2 separate regions of the Homo sapiens genome follow, and region 2 is linked to region 1. The links are contacts of gene promoters, found by promoter capture Hi-C in blood cells and fetal thymus (Javierre and others, 2016). All regions are on one chromosome and are shown on one strand. The core of a region is centred on a gene start or on the middle of the fragment in contact, and the rest is flanking DNA. Distances in the headings are between cores, read along the strand shown. Region 1 holds the start of RAP1B (RAP1B, member of RAS oncogene family). Region 2 holds the start of IL22 (interleukin 22).

What was found. Contacts are between HindIII fragments. The CHiCAGO score rates a contact against its expected background, and 5 or more counts as called.
Region 2: the fragment with the promoter of IL22 here is called in contact with the fragment with the promoter of RAP1B in region 1 in 5 of 17 cell types (M2 macrophages, monocytes, naive CD8 T cells and 2 more); the score reaches 8.2 in M2 macrophages.

Annotation. Positions count from the first base shown.
Region 1 is chr12:68,607,266-68,613,878 of GRCh38, reverse strand. It overlaps RAP1B (RAP1B, member of RAS oncogene family), which reads right to left and starts at 2,980. Exons shown (of 8, transcript NM_001010942.3): 1 at 2,836-2,980. RefSeq lists a silencer at 2,664-3,123. The HindIII fragment of the contact is 9,459 bases long and covers 1-6,613 here.
Region 2 is chr12:68,250,654-68,257,266 of GRCh38, reverse strand. It overlaps IL22 (interleukin 22), which reads left to right and starts at 3,663. Exons shown (of 6, transcript NM_020525.5): 1 at 3,663-3,684; 2 at 3,773-4,004; 3 at 4,438-4,503; 4 at 4,620-4,763; 5 at 5,689-5,754. The coding sequence starts at 3,819. The HindIII fragment of the contact is 7,204 bases long and covers 1-6,458 here.

The sequences.
Region 1 (6,613 bases), core at 1,731-4,230:
AAATTAATTTGTCAAGTAAAAGGGATTCCAAAGCCAATATGTAAATGTTTCTTTTTAAAGGATTACACTGTTCTCTTCAAATATCCTCTCTTTGAATGTTCATTACCATTAATCCCTAAATTCAAACGCTAACCATTACACTGTGCCCAGGCAACGCGCTACACTGTGCCCAGGCAACGCGCTAGGAAGATTACTGTGAAGAATGAAATGGATTAAGTCCCTACCCTCATGGTACTTACATTTAACTGGTGTTGAATGTCTATTGCAAGGCACCATGCCAGTGCGTTAAGGCATACAAAACAATATATATCTTGTGGTTGGAGTTCACAATTCAATGGAATAAATAATATAAAATGGTAACAGGAGGCAGGAAGTAATGCGTGTCATAGAAGGTAAGAGAGATGACTTTCACGCGGTCGTGGGTGAGGGGAGAATGTAAAAGAGAGCAGAGCAATCATTTTCTTATCTCCTTTTTTTTTTTTTTTTTTTAAGACAGGTCTAGCTCTGTCACCCAGGCTGCAGTACAGTAGTGCAGTCTCGGCTCACTGCACCCTCCGCCTCCCAGGTTCAAGCTGGTTCATTCAATGTGAACCTCCCAGGTTCATATTCTCGTGCCTCAGCCTCCCGAATAGCTGGGATTGCAGGCGCGTGCCACTACACCCGGCTATGTTTTGTATTTTTAGTAAAGACGGGGTTTCACCATGTTGCCCAGGCTGTTCTCGAACTCTTCACCTCAAATGATCCGCCTTCCTCGGCTCGGCCTCCCAAAGTGCTGGGATTACAGGCGTAAACCACCACGCCCAGCCAGAGCAATCATTTTCATGCCCCATACAACATTTTAAAATTAAGTCAGTTTAGCATTGGTTCTTCAGTTATATTTTGATACCTGGCATATTAAAAACAACAAACTGGCTACATGTGTTCCAATGATTTACTTTAGGACTTCCTTAGATAAGGCAGCTTCACGATTTATTGTCAACGTCAAACAAGGAAATGCAAGTGAAAACACCTAACGTAGTACACATTAAAAGCACAGATGAGCTCAAATAAGACTAAAGGAAATGCAAGTGAAAACACCTAACGTAGTACACATTAAAAGCACAGATGAGCTCAAATAAGACTATCATTCAGGCTCTGTGTGCTTAAAGTTATTTAATCTGAGTATCAGTTTCCTCACCTAAAACCTGAGGATGAAACTACTCAAGTGGTTTTTTCTCCTATTTGACTAAGGTACCCACTTTTTAAAAGTGCGATATGGGAAGAATATTCTTTGTAAGATGATAATTCACTATAAAAACGTTGTATTTCTTTCTCCATGTTGTCTCTTACGGATAGACTACTGTCCTAAAGGTCAGTGGACCCACTAACTGGTTATCTTATCTAGGCCTCAGTTTCCTCCTCCATAAAATGACAGGGTGGGACTGGATGATCTAAATAGTCCCTTCCGGCCCTTAAAAAGTCCCATGACTCCACTATGACTCAATAAATACTATTTCAAGAGTCAGCTTTTAAGAATAATATGGGCTTGAAGTTAAATGAATGTCTCCCTTTTCTATAAGTTACTTTTTGTTAAGATAAGGTCTTGTTGAGCAAGTCCAAACAGTATTCTAATTACGAAAAAAGAGAGCTGAAAAATAAATTTACAAGTCAGAGCTTTAAATTGTTAAGTACTCGACATATATGAGATGCTGCCTGCAAAACCAAAATCCAATTAGACGGAATTAATTTTAAAATACTAAAATCACAATCTTCATTTAGTGTCAACTTTCTACCCCGTAAAAATGTGATTTCCCCTTACTGCAACACAGAACTGCTTCTATTCATACCAATCAGAAGTTACAGGGCCAAAATGTTTTTCTAAACTATTAAAGAGAGTGGGAGAGGGGGGAAAGCGAAGGGGAAGGAAACCATCTGCTTTAACTTGCAAAAATGATCTTTTCTCCAAAAGACATCAGTGTTTTTCAGAAGAAAAATCCGGAGAGCCCGGTTCACTGGGCGTAGTTTTAAATAAAATTCATGGCGCTGATAGTTTTAGGATTAGACACCTCGAGATGGCGAAAAAGAGAAGAGGACAAACTTCCTGGATTTTCTCTCCCTCTAAGAGAAAGAGATTTCCTCTTGCTGACGAAGGGAAAGGCCCCTTTAACAGTTTTTCTCTACACGGTGGCTGCTGCCAGACTAAGTGGGGCTCTCTCCGCTGCCTTCCTCCTGCCACTTCCCGCAACAAATGGAGCAAGCAAGCCCCGTTTCAGGCAAACTTTTTCGCTGTCAGGCTCAAGCCCGCGGGGCGCCTGGGAGTGGTTTCCCCCGAAGGCTCCTCGCCCTAGCTCGGGGCTGGGAGAAGCTAGGTCTTCGCAAAGGACAACTTTCTGGTTTCCGTTCTAACTTCCACCCATACCACGGAGGGAACCCAGGCGACAAGCGAGGGGGCTCGGGGCGGGGAGCGAGTCTTCGGGGGAGCCGGCGGGGAAAGGAGGGCGGCGGGAGAAGCTGCGGCGGACGCGGGCTGAAGAGAGCGGGCGGGTGGGGGGGTCCTCGGGCTCTCACTTCCTCCGCCATATTTCAGACATTTGACCCCTTCCGCAAAGCGCGCTGTTCTCCCGCGGCGGCGGCGGCTGCTCCTCCTCGCCGGCCCGCAAGGCAGCGCGCTCGCGGGCCCGGCGCCTGGCCCTCGCGCCACCTGCCGCGCGCCGAGGGGCTGCCGCCGCCGGGGCCCCTGACCGCCGCGCCCGGCCCGCGCCTCGCCGCACCCCACCCGCTCCCCTCAGCCGGCGCCCGGCCCCGCGCGGCCGCCGCCGCGGCTTCCCTCAGCGGCCACGCACTCACTCTGCGAACCTCTCACGCTGTCACCGGGTCCCTGCAGCCAGCGTCGCCCCGCGCTCCCCCCGGGTCGCTACTCTAGGCGCCACGGCGGTCCTGCCGCTGCCGCGCCGCTCCGGCTGGTTTACACGCCTGAATCTGGGCGAGGTTTGGCGATGTCGCCTTGACGTCAGGCGTTCAGCCTCGCTCCAGCTTCCGCCCGCGGGCGGGGCGCGCGGGTGCGCGGCCCGGGAAGGGGCGGGCCTAGGGGGCGGGGCGAGGGGAGCCGAGGGGGCGGGGCCGCCGCGCGCCGGGTCCTCGGCGCCGGCCTCTAGCCGGCCTGCATCGCAGCCGGAGCGCAGGCCCTGCCCACGGGCCCCTTAGCTGCCTCTGGGCGGCATGTCTGCCGAGGTTCTTCTCTCTAGCTGCGCCGCGCCTTCAGGCTCGCTTCCCCAGGCTGTCTGGTGGGCGGAATCCGCGCGTCGGTGTTCCTGACCCTCGTGGGTTCCAGTGGAACCCTCCGAAACCCAAAAGGCGCCGCCTCTTAATGCAAACTGTAGTCACCGACTCGTCCAGTCTGTTGGTATTCGCGTCGTCCTTTGTGCTGGGCAAAGTAACCGAGAAGTAACGGAGAGCGCGCATTTTCTACACCTAGAGCTCCCCGAGGGAGCCTGGGCCAGCAAGTCTTTCCATTCTTGAGATGCCTTTTCTCCTGGATTGACAAGTGTTTTATCCATTGGTGTCTTAACCCGGGCGAACTCTTTCCAAATTCCCATGCCAAACGCAGTTAACAAATCGATGATTTCTAAATAAGTTTGTACCCTGCACCTAAACCAACGCCATTTATATAACTAAAATAAATTGCGTATTTAAATGCATGTCCTGGACGCTTTATTCACTTCACAGGATTACCCATAGGCAAGTAGGTTTATCGTGTGACTTCAGGGCACCAGAAAACACTTTCTGTTCCAAAATGCCTCGTTCCAAAAAGGGCGGGAACTTAACACGGGAATTTACCATTCTTACTTACCCTTAGTACAAGAAATTTATCAGAACTTTTTCTTGAAGCAGTTTTGATGGGCGAGGAGATTAAGAGAGCAAAGTGCAGGGAAAAGGGATTGAGGGGTCATTTAAGACTAACTTTCTTGGTTCATAATTTAATTAGGCCCTGTACAAATTATTCTTGAAATAAATCTTAATAAACGTTGATAAATTTGGAAGATAAATGGAATGTGACTAATTTCACTCCGTTTAAGAATATGTAGTGATTGAAAACTAAGCTAACCTAAGTTAAATGAATAGATGAGAATGAATTATAACAGTTCTCTGTGTTTTATAATGTTTTACAATTTAGGTTAATTGAGTAGATTACCTATTTCGATAATTTCTATTTCCTTAGAAAAATATCTTTTTAAAAATTGTTTATTGTCTGCATTTATTGTGTATACAACATGATCGTTTGAAGTAATGTATACATTGTTACATTACCTCACAGAGTTACCTTTTTTTTTGAGAGTCTTGCTCTGTCACCCAGGCTAGAGTGCAGTGGCATGATCTCGGCTCACTGGAATTTCTGCTTCTCAGGTTCAAGAGATTCTCCTGTCTCAGCCTCCCGAGTAGCTGGGATGACGGGCGCGTGCCACCACGCCCAGCTAATTTTTAGTAGAAAGGGGATTTCGCCATGTTGGCCAGGCTGGTCTCGAATTCCTGACCTCAGGTGATGCGCTCGCCTGGGCCCCCCAAAGTGCTGGGATTACAGGCGTGACTCACCGCGCCGGCTGAGTTAGCATTTTTTTTTTCTTTTTTGAGACAGAGTTTCGCTCTTGTTGCCCAGGCTGGAAGGCAATGGCGTGATCTCGGCTCACTGCAACCTCCGCCCCCACCTCCCACCCTCGGGTTCAAGCGATTCTCCTGCCTCAGCCTCCCGACTAGCTGGGATTACAGGCATGCGCCACCACGCCCGGCTAATTTTGTATTTTTAGTAGAGACGGGGTTTCTCCATGTTGGTCAGGCTGGTCTGGAACTCCCGACCTCAGGTGATCCGCCCGCCTGGGCCTCCCGAAGTGCTGGGATTACATGCGTGAGCCACCGCGCCTGGCCTTGAGTTAGCATTTTTTTATGAGAACACTTAACATCCATTCTTTAGAAAACCTTTTTAAATAAAAGTTTCAAAGGCAAATTTCAGAGCAGTCCGTTGGAATTACTGTAACTTCTCAATGAATGAGTGAATTACAAATAAATTTGACTTTACTAACTTTTCAGTTATTGCATAAAAATTTGATAACTGAAAGTCTGAAACTTTGAGCTCACAGAAGTGTTACCTGGGAACACTGTGCTTTTTCTTTCTTTCTTTTTTTAGAAAAACTCTTTGTCCTTTGGGCAATTGATTTTTTTTTTCCAGAAAGAAATTGGTTTTAGAAAATTGAAGCTAGAATTTTTAGAGTTTGAGAGAACGTGTAAAATAATCTATTTAATTAAAAACACAGTTTCTCTTATTAGACTGGAAATCATTGTTATTTGTATTAAACTGTTATCACTATGCAGAGAATACCATAATCTGCATCTCTTAACACTGAACTCACTTTTCAGTTTGAGCCTCTTTCCTATTTATTTCCTTGACTTCTTCTCCAGGATATTCCACTGGCAATTTGCACTGGTCATGTGTGCAAACTGAACTCATCGTCTTTGTAACCAAACCAGTTTCTTTTCCTCTTCCTTTGTGAATTGTATCACCATCTTTTAAATTACCCAATCTTCAAGCCTGATACTTAGCTCTCTGCTCTTCTTGAATAATCCATCAATTGGCATATCTATTAGATAGTAATTCGACAAGGTCTTTCATTGTGTTTCCTCTTTTCCATTTCAACTAAGACCATACTTAGTTTTTAGTTGCCAAATTTAGTTTGGCAGAACTCATCCCCTGGACCTTTGCAGCCTGGTGGCCTCCAGTCTGTTCCTGCTGTGATCCATTCTATACATTGTTGCCAGATGATTATCTTAAAGCATACCAAGCAAGTCACTCCCTTCCTCAAAGAGCCTTCAATTACTCCCCACTCTACCAAAATAAAATTAAAATCCTGTGTCTCACTTTTTCCTTTCACTCAAAACTGATTTATAGTCAGAATGGACAGTGGACTTTTCATCTGGCCCACATAATTTGCTTCCCCATCTCTCTGTTGTGCATAGGTGAATGATTTCCTCTGCCTGGAATGCCCCTTCCCATTCCATCTCATTCTGCAAATACCTTGCCCATTATTCAAGGTTTATCTACTTTCTCTTAAGAATGAGCTTCTTGGCCAGGCGCGGTAGCCTATAATCCCAGCACTTTGGAAGGCAGAGGCGGGCGGATCACTTGAGGCCAGGAGTTCAAGACCAGGCTGGCCAACATGGTGAAACCCCATCTCTACTAAAAATACAAAAATTAGCTGGGCATGGTGGCACATGCCTGTAATCCCAGCTACTCGGGAGGTTGAGGGAGAAGAACTGCTTGAACTGGGACCCGGGAGGCGGAGGTTACAGTGAGCAGAGATCGCACCACTGCACCCCAGCCTGGGCTACAGAGTGAGACTCCGTCTCAAAAAAAAAAAAAAAAAAAAAGAGCTTCTTTTCTGATACTTCTAACCTTATGTATTCTCTTCTCTTTAGAATCCCTGAAACATTTTATTGCTGCTTTTCTTTGTCACTTGTGTTTGACCTTCCTGTGAATAGGGATTTGCAAACTTTTTCTGTCAAGGGCCAGAGAGTAAATATTTTAGACTTTGTGGGCCAGACAGATGGTCTCTGTTGCAACCACTCAACTCTACAGTTGTGGGAC
Region 2 (6,613 bases), core at 2,414-4,913, 360 kb after region 1:
TTTTGCCACTATATGCCAGGCACTGTTCCATGTGCTAGGCACAGTATAGTGAATGAGACAGCCAAAGCCTACTTCTGGTTGAGGATTCTGATTAGTCCTTCTTGGCATTAGATCAGGTAAATTGTTACATATTCCAAATCAACCATGGGTATGGTCTGTCTGGGACCTGGGAGGTGGGCTTTGGGGTTGCTCTTCATCTGCGGTGGCTTTGGGAGAGACTTGAAAATTCACAAGGAAACAACTGCAGAAAAGGCCCATTATAATCTGAAAGTATTTAGCATACATATGTCTCTGGTTGCTGTTTTCACAGGATCACCTTTTTGTTATACCCACAATCTCTTCCATTTTTTTTTTTGAGACAGAATCTTGCTCTATCACCCAGACTATAGCACAGTGCGGTGATGTTGTCTCACTGCAACCTCAGCCTCCTGGGTTCAAGCGATTCTCCCACCTTAGCCTCCCGAGTAGCTGGGACTATAGGTGCACCACCACCCCCGGCTAATTTTTGTATTTTTAGTAGAGACAGGGTTTCACCATGTTGGCCAGACTAGTCTCAAACTCCTGACCTCAGGTGATCTGCCCACCTCAGCCTCCCAAAGTGCTGGGATTATAGGCGTGAGCCACTGCGCCCAGCCTCACAATCTCTTCTAATAGCAAATATTTCTGAGACTCCTAGTATGACTGTTCAGAAACCCCCATACAACACCAGAGCAGATTTTCCCTTTAGTGAGTTTTAGTTAAACTCATTGAAACTTAAGATCTAGGCTCCATTAACACTATCTTCTTGATGCTTGGTCCATCAGGGGCATACAATGAATAAGAGACACACTGCTGCTCTTAAAGAGGGCTTTGCAATTTTCTGACATTCTCTTTCTGTTTCACAGTGATTTATTTTCTATTCAGGAACAATAAGCTGGTAAGCAGGACTGGGTCAAACATCAACTTTAGAAATACCGTAAAGGCTGTCAATATGCTTTTATTGAGTCCTTCCTATGTGTGTAGCACTGTTCTAAGTGTTGGAGTCACAAAGACGAAAGAGACAGAGACTCTTCCCTCGAAAGCATGTAATTCAACGATGTCAAAACTTATTTTCCCGTGGAAAGAAAATTATGTATGCTGGTCAGTTTCCCAGGCAAACCCACAAAAGCCTATTTAATCGATGAATAGCTTAAATCTAGTGCTAATAGAATTATACGGAGTTCTGGGCAAAAATGGCCATATATAATAGGAAACTGAATAAGGAAGAGTTTCATCATCTTTTCTTGGGCCCATGGTCAACCCCAAGGAAACATTTGGAACACACCTATTTTTTTTCAATTCAGAAAAAAAATCTTATTTTTATTTGACAAATAAAAATTATATATACAGTATTTATGTTACACAATATGATGTTTTAAAAATTACTTATTTTTTAAATTGATGCATTATAATTGTACATATCTATGGAGTATAATTTGATGTTTTGATATAAGTGTATGCTGTATGATACAATTAGGTTAGTTAGTGTATCCATCACCTCATGCATTTATCATTACTTTGTGGTGAGAATCTTCAAAAGCCTCTCTTCTAGCTATTTTGTAAAATACAATATTTTCCTGTTAAATACAGTCATTCTACTGTGTAATAGAACACCGAAATTATTCCTTCTAATTGTATCGTTGTACCCGTTGACCAACCTCTCCCCATCCTCCTTTCCCCACTTACTCCCCCAGTCTCTGGTAAACCACTGTTATATTCTCTGCTTCTATATCAACTTTATTATTATCATTATTATTTTTTAGATTCCACATATCAGTGAGATCATGCAGTATTTGTTTTTCCGCATCTGATTTATTTCACTTAACATGGTGTCCTTCAGGTTCATTCACGTTATTGCAAATGACAGGATTACATTTCTTTTATGGCTGAATAGTATTCCATTGTGTATATATACCACATTTTCTTTATCCATTCATCCATCCATCTGTGGATACTTAGGTTGATTTCATATATGTTTTGATATACGCATGCATTGTGGAATGGCTAAATTGAGTGAATTAACATATATGCATTACCTCACATACTTGAAATTTTTTTTTGTAATGAGAACATTTACAATCTATGCTCTTTGTGATTTTTAAGCATACGATATATTGTTCTTAACTATCATCACCATGATGGACAATAGAGCTCTTCAACTTATTCCTCTTCTTTAACTGAAATGTTGTATCCTTTGGGTAACATCTCCCCATCTCGCTGCCCCTTGCCCACCCAGCCCCTGGCAACCACCATTCTACTCTTTCCTTCTATGAGTTCAAGTGTTTTAGATTCCACATGCAAGTGTGATCATGTGGTGTTTTTTACTCTCACTAATCTTCATTTTTGCTTCTTTCTCCTCTGGCCACCTTCACAAATGCTCAGTGTCCTCATGTGGTTCCGACCCTTTGCAGTGGCACCTTGCTTAGGTCTGTGCCATCTCAAAAAGTGGTCTAGGTTTTACAATTATTTACATCCCTACTTCCAGTTCTTCAACACTCCTGATCTTAACTAGTTGTGAGGAGAAAAATCTGATTATACAAATTTGCACTAATTCACATTCCTTCCCTCAGCAATAGGTATTTGCATTTTGATACTTGCATTTGCTTCCTTGCTCTGCGGGAGAATTTCCAGTCTAGTTTTAGGTGTATTTTTAAATAATTTGAAGGTAACGCGGAACCTCTATATTCCTATATTCCCTTCTTCAGACATCCATGTGTGTGTGTGTATATATGTATATATATAAAATGTTGCATATATATGTATATATATAGTATACACACATATATAATATATATACACACACATATATAGTTGTTATAGGATTATTTGGAAATATTATGTTGAGACTTGTGTGAAGTGTAGAATTAGGTAAAATTTTAAGATGAACTATATCCATGGTATTCTTTTATTTTAAAAAAAGTTTACATGTTAAGAAAAAAGGAGATCAGATTTTCAGCATTAGTATTTACAAACTTAAGTTGATATTGATTATAATTCAATTAATACAATTTTAAGATATATTTACTTCTGCCTTAATTGTTATGATCACTTAAAAATAGTTCCAAAAAGGGAAGAAAACAATAATTAGATTAGCCAAGACAGTTATTTTTGAAACATAAGTCTGGTTTAGAATTCAGCATGTTTAAAAATGAGATAAAATTATTTTAATAATGGAATGATCTGTTAGCTGTCATTACCATTTACTTTAAAGCAGAGGATATAGGACATGGGTCCTTTTTTTCTGATCACCTCCAATGAGATAAGAATCTATAAAGCTGGTAGGAAAATGAGTCCGTGACCAAAATGCTTACTCAGCCACTATAGGAGATCAAAACATTTTATACTAAATCTGAACTCTACTAAGACAAAACAATTGTGTTCTTTGAAAAATATGTAGGGTTTAGAAAATTTCTGGGATTTGTCTGTAAAATACCCTCCGGGCTCTAATAGTGACGTTTTAGGGAAACACTTGCATCTCAAGGTGGAAAGGATAGAGGTGGTGTTTTGTGGGCTCCTGTGGTGGTTAGGTCGTTCTCAGAAGACAGTACTGGAAATTAGATAATTGCTGATGTCATATTTTTCACAATTAAAAAAAAGTCAGTATCCTGGGGGCTATAAAAGCAGCAGCTTCTACCTTCCCCGTCACAAGCAGAATCTTCAGAACAGGTAAGCGTTTCGGCAAACTTGGTACAATTGGTTAGTTTGATGAAATACTTCTTGACTAATTTTGTTCCTTCACGTTGTCTTCGACCAGGTTCTCCTTCCCCAGTCACCAGTTGCTCGAGTTAGAATTGTCTGCAATGGCCGCCCTGCAGAAATCTGTGAGCTCTTTCCTTATGGGGACCCTGGCCACCAGCTGCCTCCTTCTCTTGGCCCTCTTGGTACAGGGAGGAGCAGCTGCGCCCATCAGCTCCCACTGCAGGCTTGACAAGTCCAACTTCCAGCAGCCCTATATCACCAACCGCACCTTCATGCTGGCTAAGGAGGTATACATCTCAATCCTGCTCTTTCTCGTTGGATCTACTTGGAATCCAAATAGTTCTTAAACTTTTCTTCAGAGCATCTCTAAGAGCTTTAGGAACCCACTGTTTATCCCTGAGGGTAGATAAATTTTCTGTTTTTTCAGAGACTCTTTGGGAATCTGGCTTTTTTTTTTTTCTTGAACTTCTTCCTTCCATTTTGGCCTTTATGATACATATGATGAATTTTTCCCAAAGAGCGGCCATTCAGTAATCCATCTGATGATTTTTTTTTTCCTTTATGCCTCTGTGCATTGTTCTAAACTCATGCACACATCTGAATTCTGCTTTTAGTCTTTATGATGTTGCTCTGGGGAGACGGGATGGGGCACATGTCTATGTATAAATTTTTTTTCTATTTGCTCAATGTCCAGACCCTTAGTCTTTTCTTCTCTTCCAGGCTAGCTTGGCTGATAACAACACAGACGTTCGTCTCATTGGGGAGAAACTGTTCCACGGAGTCAGTGTAAGCTACAGTTGTGACGAACAGGGCCGTGTGCCGTCCATGGGTACTTGGGGTGGTGGTGATGATGGTTTAGGTCTTATCCCTTATGACCCTTTCTGTTTCCCTTCCACCTGCAGATGAGTGAGCGCTGCTATCTGATGAAGCAGGTGCTGAACTTCACCCTTGAAGAAGTGCTGTTCCCTCAATCTGATAGGTTCCAGCCTTATATGCAGGAGGTGGTGCCCTTCCTGGCCAGGCTCAGCAACAGGCTAAGCACATGTGTAAGTTCAGCTCTCAGCCTATGCCCACCTACCCCTCCTTCCCTCCTTCCACAGAGACCCCCTTACCCCAACTCTCTCTCCTTCCCCCTACCCCTAAGCTAGCAGGAAGAAGTGTCTTGGCAGCAGTGTTATCAGGAGTCATTTGGGATCATAGAGTATTTGCTTTTGCTTTGACTGAGTCACATCTTGAGTTTATAGTGGTGAATGGGGTCTGGAACTTAAGTGTACAGAAGCCGCATTGGTTTGTCTTCGGAAAAAAGGCAACTCAGGTTGCGTAAGATGAGAAAGGTGTTGGGAAAAACATCTAGATGTGGAAATGGATCCATTGAGTCTAAGTTGTTGAGGGGAGGGGATGGCATGGAGAGAAATTAGAAGAGAAAGTGGGAAATGGGAAGGCTTAAAGTCGGTGGTGGGTCGGCAGACTGTTGCCCTGTTGATGTCATGGGAAGCCACAAAATCGGAGGCGTGTGAACTTGATGCCGCTGAACATTTGAAACTATGAAAAAAAGTTTGAGTGGAGTGGGCCCAGTAAAAGGCCCTAGGACTTACTGAAGAGGGCTTAATTTTCACATGAGATGTTTTATGTACATTTCTTGTTCTAAGCATGCAATTTTCTGGAGATACGATTGAGGTTTTATTCCTTACAGAATTTGCATAAACTACTCCGCTCTTTCCACAAATGCAAACCTCAGTAGGATTTCCCAAAGATGAAGAGAGGTCTCTTGTAAGGGAAGTGACTGGATTCTGGCGTCCAAGGGAATTCAAGAGCTCAGGAAATCTAGGTCACTGTTGAAATCTAGGTCATTGTGGGCAAAATTACTAAGAGCTTTAATTCCAGGTGAATTGTACTGTACCTCCATGGGTGTGGAGGTTCATAAAGTTTCAGCACAACATTAAGATAGTTATGCTTGTTATTGTTTTATAGCATATTGAAGGTGATGACCTGCATATCCAGAGGAATGTGCAAAAGCTGAAGGACACAGTGAAAAAGGTAGGACTGATAACTGTCAATGCTAAGTCATGCAATAGGAGAGACAAATGTTGTTTTTCTTTCCTTTCTTTCTTCCCATCACTTTGTGATTTTTCACTTGATTCTCCTACCACCAGGGCGATTACTTTGGTGTCTGTGTATGTAGATATATCTATATATCTAGATGTCAGTTTCCAAATCTTGCAAATTGTAGAATTCTAGAACTGGTTGGGATCTTAGCTTGTCTAGTCACATAACCTCAGATTCTGGGGATGGTCAGTGGCAGAGATAGGGCTAGAATGCAGGTCTCCTGAATCCCAAGCCAGCACTTTTCCCGGTGGTGATACAGATTAGTTTTGGTACCATTAATTCTTAGGGAAATTTCAGATTCCTATTGACTCATGTAATCTGAAGAAGTACTTGTTTAAAAACAGAAAAATGCCTATGGGCAAATTTATTTGAAGTCATTTTTGAAGTCATTAATGCATTGCTTTGAAACTTGGAAGAATAAACTCAGAACAATGAGAAAAGAGCTGGACTTGCATATAGGGCTAATTTCTGGAGTAATAAACACTTATTTTGAATTATCATAATATCTATCAGATATTGATTATAGTTTAAAAGCAAGAGCAGACAACCCCGATCTCTTTTATACAGGTTCAAATAGAGTAAAAATATTAGTAAGAGATTTATTAAAGTTAAATGGAAGTCTGAATTGGTAAGCTTTTTTTTCTTCCTCTCTCCCATCAAGACCTTCCATTCTAGTTTCTTCCTTCACTCCCTCAACAAATCCCTAGGGAGCATTTATCCATGGTGGGCTGGTGTACATTTCTATAGTGAATGATACCATCATGTGGCCTATTTGGTGAAAAGAACAACA